Regions from separate parts of the Homo sapiens genome. Here region 2 is linked to region 1. The links are contacts of gene promoters, found by promoter capture Hi-C in human tissues and cell types (Jung and others, 2019). All regions are on one chromosome and are shown on one strand. The core of a region is centred on a gene start or on the middle of the fragment in contact, and the rest is flanking DNA. Distances in the headings are between cores, read along the strand shown.

Evidence for each region. The method cuts DNA at HindIII sites, captures the fragments that hold promoters and counts their contacts. A contact is called where the count stands out against the background at its distance.
Region 2: a contact is called between a fragment that was not itself captured here and the fragment with the promoter of EGF in region 1, in 1 of the 25 tissues and cell types used here (dorsolateral prefrontal cortex).

Annotation. Positions count from the first base shown.
Region 1 is chr4:109,910,504-109,914,717 of GRCh38, reverse strand. It overlaps EGF (epidermal growth factor), which reads right to left and starts at 1,835. Exons shown (of 24, transcript NM_001963.6): 1 at 1,256-1,835. The coding sequence starts at 1,382. The HindIII fragment of the contact is 5,642 bases long and covers 1-4,214 here.
Region 2 is chr4:109,554,455-109,558,668 of GRCh38, reverse strand. It overlaps the pseudogene CDC42P4. Among named protein-coding and RNA genes, the nearest start is that of MCUB, 3.7 kb to the left of the region's middle. The HindIII fragment of the contact is 3,956 bases long and covers 1-3,636 here.

The sequences.
Region 1 (4,214 bases), core at 586-3,085:
TGTCATTAGCAGATCAGAGAAAGACGCCTCATTCATACACAAGAATTTGCTGAGTACACACTGTGGAAGCAGGAATGTCCTAGGTGCTGGGAACATAGAGATCACTAGGATTAAGTCTTTATTTCAAATACCCTAGAGTTCTGCTCACCTGTTACAAGGAGTGCTACCTGAGAACAGAGTCCAGAGATTCTGAGCAAAAGCACCTGATTTCCTCATCGGGAACTTCCTTAATGGGAGAGCCAGGACAGCAGCCTAGCTTTGGCAGTTTGGCTCCATTCTGCTCTCTTTATTCAAACTATTGCCTATTGTGTACTGTCTTCCATAGGTGTCTCTTCTGGAAACTGTACTGTGTTTTCCCCCTCAATCTACCTCTTTTTAAAAGCCAGACGCCATCTCAAAAGGGCAAGCTGATAAAAATGGAATGTCGGGGCAGCTATAACCTCTCATCAACAAAGGCGGCTGCCGTGTCTAAGCAGCAGGTTGGAGGCTCACCCAAGGATTAAATAAATGAATTAACAGTTAGAGAGAGAATGTTTTTCAGGCAATATCCTTTGGCAGGATTGTAATTCGCATTCAGTCAAGCTCCCATTTCCCCTTGGCAAAAAATTCATTTAATATGAGAGGACAGTGTGGCTTATTTACCCATTATCATATTTGGCAGTTCTTAAAGTTGCAATGCACCTGTTACTAAAACTCCGGAGTTGTGTCAGAGCCTCAGAAACAGTAAGAGTGGGGAGAAAGTGAAGGAGGTTGAAATTGAAATTTAGGTTAATTTTCACAACTACCTTTGTTCACAGTTCCCTTTCCATTTTTCACTAATTTTTAGAACTTCTGAATTCTTACAAGTTATCAGAAGGAAGGATTTTTTTCTTTGTGGCTTAAGAGTTTCAAACAGACAAACAAAAAATCAACCATCTGTTTCCCTAATTTCCAAGCAATTAGCCAGGTGTTAATTACTCCTCTTGTCAGAGTAAAAGCTGAAGCTTCCATGAAATGTTCTGCTAGTTTAAAATGAGGCATATTCATTCACTTATACACAGAAGTACAGTTTGAGAGTTATGAAGTTTTATAGTTGGTAGCAGATTAGCTCTAATGGCCAGTAAGAAAATAAACATGCATCAGAAAACAAAAATTAAGCAACTATACATACCCAAAGACAAACTTTGTTAAATGCCCAAGTATACCAGATTGAACCAACAGGGATGTGGGGGCAGTTTCCCGGAGACCTGGAGCACCTTTTCATTGGAGTACTTACCCACACAAGTAGAATTCCCATTTCCTGCGAGAGTACCTTCAGGACAGCTCCAGTGCTGCGGTGCTGAGAGACTAACAAAACTAAATTTTGAAACTACTGGCAACAGAATGATAAGAGTGAGCAGCATAATCTTGATGAGTTTGAACTTTCAAAAGAAAACAGCTTGATTTTGCTGGAGCATGGCCCGGGCAAGGTGAGTATGATTGACCCCAGATGCGGCTGCCTGAGCGGAGGCCTCAGCCCTGGGGCATCTTTTACTCTCCTGTTGTGCTGTTGTCCTCCAAGCTCTTTCTTCAACTGAGAGACCTTCTGAATGCAGCCTGCCAAGGGAAGCCACAGGAAAGATTTCTTTATCTATGTTTCTTTGGAAGCCAGTAAGAAATACCTGACACCCTTATGACAAATTTCACAGAGTTTAACAGCCCTGCTCTGGCTGACTTCACTGTGACAGAGCAAGGCAAAGGCTTAGAGAGGAAAAAGAAAGGAAGAACTGATGGAAAGTTCCAGCTACAACCCTTGGATTGGGGCTGAAAGAAGAAATATGGAGATACGATTCCTCTCCCAACAGTTTCTCTTTTTGAAAAGTGGAATGACTCAGCTTTGCTTTTTAAAGCTCTTCAGGCTCCACCTCCTTTCCTTTAGTGACACTTGAGTGAGCCTCTGTTTGCAAATGCGAATGTGGGCAATTCCTCCACACAGGAAAGCAGGGATGACTGCCAAAGAGGAGATAACTCGCTACTCACCATAAATATCCTGGGCAGAACTGGGAGAGAGGAGTTGGGGGCTGTGGAGGTGCTCATGGTGAATGGCGGGAACTGCTAAATATTGGCTATGTTTTAATGTCTGGAAGGATGGAGACAAAATTAAACCATGCAGTATAAATCAATAATAAGCAGCACTGTTGATAGTTTGGATTGATAATAATTGATCATTCACATGAGCAATAGTAAAGATAGTTCACCTTCAGCCCATTATTTGAACGAAATGTCAATACCAGTGCACATTCCAGGAGCTTTATCTTATTTTTCTCTTTCTCCTGTATAGTTTATAGCGGAATTTGAAAGATTATTCTTTCCAAATCAAAGGGAAATCCCTGAGGCCAAATGAAGAGATACAGTATGGACAGACACCTTTTCTTTCAGCATGAGCATGATAAAACATCACGAGGGGCCAGGAGTGCAGAGAAAGGAGTGGATTGTTATTATAGGGACATTGGAAAAAATAAGCTAACAGTGCAAAGCTGGGAAGCACTGGAAATCCAGCACAGAGGAATGCTTTTCCTTCTAAGATAATTTAGGCTTTTTTTTTTTCACATCTCTGTGATAGAAAATAAGAACTGGACGTATCTGTTAGCTGTCTCCTCAACCACTTTCTACTTGGAGCAACAGTGGTTATTTCTTCAGGAGTACAACTAGGGCCCAAAAATACCCAGAAGGCAAACAACTTATAGCAGATTTGATGCACGATGGAAATTTCTGTCAGTTTACTCCATCCTGGAAAATGGACTTTCATTTAAGTTACCCTGAGGTAGTGTTCCAAGTGCTGGTCAAAAATGTACGTAAAAGCAATAGTCACAAAAACAACTGTCACACTAGTGAACACCCCATTACAGAGGAGAACAGACTAACTCTAAGCCTTTTACTCATACTTAATTATGTCCTGATTATTCTCCAAAGACTGGATCACTTTCCTGAAACAGCTTAAGTCAGGATTTCTCCTATTTCAGCCAGCCTCTGCCAGGCAGCTCTGAACCCTTACAGGAGAAACAGACCCTGGGGAAGGGGGAAAGAGAAGTCCTTTAGGTGGTTATGCGGAATATTCCATTGCTTTCTGGACTGAGTCAGACTCAAGACTCATAATGAGCATCCTACAAATAACCTGCACTGACTCTTCGAGTTACTAACTTTATTAATAAGCTTCCCTTTCAGCACAATACATTGCCAGCATCCCAGATGACAGCAATGGAAGGGGCTTAGAGGACAATCAAGCATCACGCTGTGTCAGTGGAGTGGAGTGGAGAGAATGATATGAAGACAAACATGAAATGATCCACAGCTCTGTTCTGTTTGGATTTGGAATCTCTCATATTATTTTTGGTTGGAAAAAGGTTTGCTTTCTTAATTACATGTCACCTGGGCTAATGTTGTCATTAATGTTGAGTACAAGCTCCCTAGGAGATGACGGAGTCAACAGAGGTATAGCAGATGCTATGGCTGATGACTGATGATGAAAATCAATCGCAGCTAATTCATCATCTACAGTTGCCCAGATAGCAAAATCATAGGACAGAGCTACCCAACTGGGAAGGATTTACAGAGATATTTAATAAGTTTATATTCCAGCCGGGCGTGGTGGCTCATGCCTGTAATCCCAGCACTTTGGGAGGCCAAGGTGGGCAGATCACACTTCAGGAGATCTAGACCATCCTGGCTAACACGGTGAAACCCCATCTCTACTAAAAATACAAAAAGTTAGCCAGGCGTGGTGGCACATGCCTATAGTCCCAGCTACTCATGAGGCTGAGGCAGGAGAATTGCTTGAACCCAGGAGGCGGAGGTTGCAGTGAGCCGATAACACGCCACTGCACTCCAGCCTGGGTGACAGAGCAAGACTCTATCTCAAAAAAATAAATAAATAAATAAATAATAAGTTTATGTTCCTACTTCTGGATAAAACTGAACCTTTCTTGCACTCAAGAAAGGTTGAAATAAACTCTTTATTTTAAAATTGATAAGAAATGCACTATAACTTATAGGTTTGAGCTGCCAAATATGATTTAATTTCTGGAATTGAGTTAAAGTTAACTAATTCATTCGTTAATTAAACAGCTATATATGATAGAGCACTGCCTGGAGTACAAGAAACAGAAGTCGTAGTCCTTAACATCAAGAGCTTGCTGAGGTTGATTAACAGCAACAACAGAGAGTATGAGTATGAGCTAATGAATGACCAGCCACCA
Region 2 (4,214 bases), core at 409-2,908, 360 kb after region 1:
TTCTTTCTGATGTTCGGACATGTTTGGAGTTTCTTCCTCCTGGTGGGTTCAGTGGTTTCGCTGGCTTCAGGAGTGAAGCTGCAGACCTTGGCAGTGAGTGTTACAGCTCTTAAGGTGGCGCGTCCGGAGTTGTTCATTCCTCCCAGTGGGTTCGGGTCTCACTGGCCTCAGAAATGAAGCTGCAAACCTTCACGGTGAGTGTTACAGATCATAAAGGCAGTGCAGACCCAAAGAGTGAGCAGCAGCAAGATTTATTGCAAACAACAAAAGAACAAAGCTTCTAGAGCGTGGCACGGGACCCAGACAGGTTGCCACTGCTGGCTCTGGCAGCCTGCTTTTATTCCCCCATCTGGCCCCACCCACATCCTGCTGATTGGTCCATTTTACAGAGCGCTGATTGGTCCGTTTTGACAGGGTGCTGATTGATGTGTCTACAATCCCTGAGCTAGATACAGAGTGCTGATTGGTGTATTTACAATCCTTTAACTGGATATAAAGGTTCCCCAAGTCCCCACTAGATTAGCTAGACACGGAGCACTGATTGGTGCATTTACAAACCTTGAGCTAGACACAGGGTGCTGATTGGTGTGTTTACAATCCTTTAGCTAGACATAAAGGTTCTCCAAGTCCCCAGGAGATTAGCTAGATACAGAGTGCTGATTGGTGCATCCACGAACCCTGAGCTAGACACAGAGCACTGATTGGTGCATTTACAAACCTTTAGCTAGACAGAGTGCTGATTGGTGCATTTACAATCCTCTAACTAGACATAAAAGTTCTCCAAGTCCCCACCCCTCTCAGGAGCCCAGTTGGCTTCCCCTAGTGGATGCCATGCCAGGGTTGCGGGCTGAGCTGCTTGCCAGTCCTGCGCTCGTGCCTCGTGCCTGCACTCAGCAGCCCTTGGGCAGTCAATGGGACTGGACGCCGCTGAGGCAGGGGCGGTGCCCCTCAGGGAGGCTAGGGCCTAGCAGAAGCCCACCGCGGGGGGACTTGCACATGGCGGGCTGCAGATCCGAGCCCTGCCCCATGGGGAGGTGGCTGAGGCCTGGTGAGAATTTGAGCGTGGCGCGGGCCGGCTGGCAGTGCTGGGGGACCTGACGCCCCCCTCTGCAGCTGCTGGCCCAGGTGCTAAGCCCTTCACTGCCCGGGCCGGGGGTGCCGGCCGCCCTCCGAGTGCGGGGCCACGGAGCCCACGCCCACCCGGAACTCGCGCTGTCCCGCAAGGCCACATGCAGCCCCGGTTCCCACCCGCGTCTCTCCCTCAACCTCCCTGCAAGCAGAGGGAGCTGGTACCAGCTTCCGCAAGCCTGGAGAGGGGCTCCCACAGTGCAGCAGCGGGCTGAAGGGCTCCTCAAGCATGGCCAGAGCGGACTCTGAGGCCAAGGAGGCGCTGAGAGCCAGCGAGGGCCGCCAGCACATTGTCACCTTTCAATAAGATTCTTTACACAATTTTTATTAAACCAGAGAGCCAGCCAGGCGTGGTGGCTCATGCCTGTAATCCCAGCACTTTGGGAGGCCAAGACGGGCGGATCACAAGATCAGGAGTTCAAGACCAGCCTGGCCAACATTGGTGAAACCCTGTCTCTACTAAGAATACAAAAATTAGCCGGGCGTGGTGGAACGTGCCTGTAGTCCTGGCTACTCGGGAGGCTAAGGGAGGAGAATTGCTTGACCCCGGGGAGGCAGAGGTTGCAGTGAGCCGAGGTTGTGCCACTACACTCCAGCCTGGGCGACAGAGCAAGACTCCATCTCAAAAAAAAAAACAAACCAGAGAGCCTCATTTGGGGGCTCTTGGGTTCCTCGTCTGCTACACAGAAGTGAGGAGATTCCCCTGACTGATCTCATGTTGTTAAGTGTTCTATCCATCCCCACCACACCCCAACTTCTTCATGAAGCAGGTCTCCATCCTTATAACTTGAGAGGCTGTGAATCATTCCATAGATGTCGGTCTTCTGCTACCGCTCTTCACATTGCCTCTACATACCAGGTCTTCAGCTGCATTCTAGAAACATCATATACTATTGATTGCAAATCTATAATAATATAAGACAATGACTGACAGGGAAAAAAGTTTTTTTAAGTTACAAACTCAATCCACTTGTTGCATTTCAAAGGTGCAATACTTTTCTTTATTCATCAGTTAAAGAAGTTAGAAATTAACTTCCCCAAAAATCAGCAACCGGCAAACAAATTTCCTTGAAAGTCACAGTCACATATTTAGTGCATCCCAGAAAAGAACAGGGGCAAGAGAATTTTCACCCACTTTCATGAGTTTCATCAAATACTGAGCCTACTCAAGGGTGGAGAGAAAAGGTAACTTTCAAAAAGAGGTATGTTATTAAATAAGGCATTTACTATATTCTTTCCTAAAAGCACCCCAGATAGGGAACATGTTTTTTAAACTAGATTTAGGAAGTCGAATATGGAGTCAATCCGTCCTTCTCCTCTTAAGGACTGACCACTGGTTAATGAATTAAAAAAGAGAAAAGAAAAGAAAAGAAAAAAGACTAAAAAACAAACCCTACAAACACTCCTCCTCCAAAAAAGAAAAAAATAAAACCCCACTAAGATGTCCCAGATTACCCTCCAGAATGGACCCAGGGAGCAGCTTCAACAATTCCAATTAGTCTGTTACACAGTCATCACAAGCATGCCTTGCTTTTAAGTAAAAACAAAATTGTTTTTTGAAACAAAAACCAAAAATGAGTACTGATCACTTTTCTAACAATACACAATTACTCAGAATTAACTAGTATTGGGAGGGAGAAGTGGGCCATACCTCTAATCCCTGTCTCACATGGATGCATGTGGGTTGGTGCAGGGTATTTGTCATTATTGCATAAATGAATTTTAATTTTTAATCTTTTGTTTGATTTAAACATTGCTTTTAGTATGATGCCTACACCAGCTGTGCAGAAAGGGCTCTGGAGAGATGTTCATAGCAGCATAGGCTTCCAGCTCTTCTTCAGTTCTGGAGGCTCCAGGACAGCCAATATTGCTTTGTCAAATCCATTCTTTAGATCTTGCTGTGTGGGTACAGGACCGTCCATATACTTGACAGCCTTCAGGTTGTGGGCCGGCTTTTCAGCAGTCTCTGGAGTGATAGGCTTCTATTTGTTCTTGGTAATTTTCTCAATAATAGACCCTCTGAGATCAATTTGGGTTGTGACAAGCAAGAAAGGAGCCTTTGGACAGTGGTGAGTTATCTCAGGCCCTCACTTTTCTTTCATACTTTAAAATGAACATGGAGAGACCACTGAGAAACAGACTAGAAATATATCTGTGTAGATAACTCAGGAGTTATAGTCTGTCATAATCTTCTTGCCCTGCAGAATTAAAAGTCTAAGAGTATATGGCTCTGCACCAGTCCTAACTGTGAGTGCATAGTTGTCAAAAACAGTCTGTATCTATTAGGATGGAAATTTGTTGTGTAGGATATCAGGAGACATGTTTTACCAACAACTGCATTGACCACAACAATGCAACTAATTGTCTGCATTGCTGAAATAGTTTTGTATCCACTTTAAATATTTGAAATCTGATGTTGACCTCAGTTCTCCAGAAAAGAGTCTTATTAGGAAGGAGGGGAATGGAGAAGAGGGGGAGGAGATGTCCGTTTTGCAGCACAGAATCTGGCCACAAAGGTGGGATTAGCAAACTCCTGTGGGAGAAGCTCCGGACACTGCAGACAGAGCGGGTTTACCGGGGAGGCACTGTCCACAAAGTCGCTCGGCACACATAGATGTTTCGGGTGCACAACAAACTTTCCCACAGTATATAGGACTCTTGATGAGACAAAACGATTACTCAATGTGAGCTAGTTCATAAGTATTACTTATATGTCACAGCCTTTTCACATTCGAATCTCTGATCTCGCTTTTCAAAAAAAAAAAAACTTTGTAAACAGCTCTATTAAGGTATGATCTACATATCGTAACTTTCATTTATTAAAAGTTATTTTTGGCAAATTTACAGAGTTGTGCAACAGTCACCACAATCAATTAGAACATTTCCATCACTCTAGAAAGATTCCTCAGGCTCATTTGCCTCACTCTCCATTCTTACCTCCAGCCCCAGGCAACTACTAATCTACTTTCTGTCTCTCTAGGAAGCAAAGAGCAAGCTGAGCTGGAGATACATTTACTTTGGGTTTAGTGGGATATTTTTGTGTGGTTCATGGTCATTTCTATGTATTGTTAAGATATTGCTAGCCA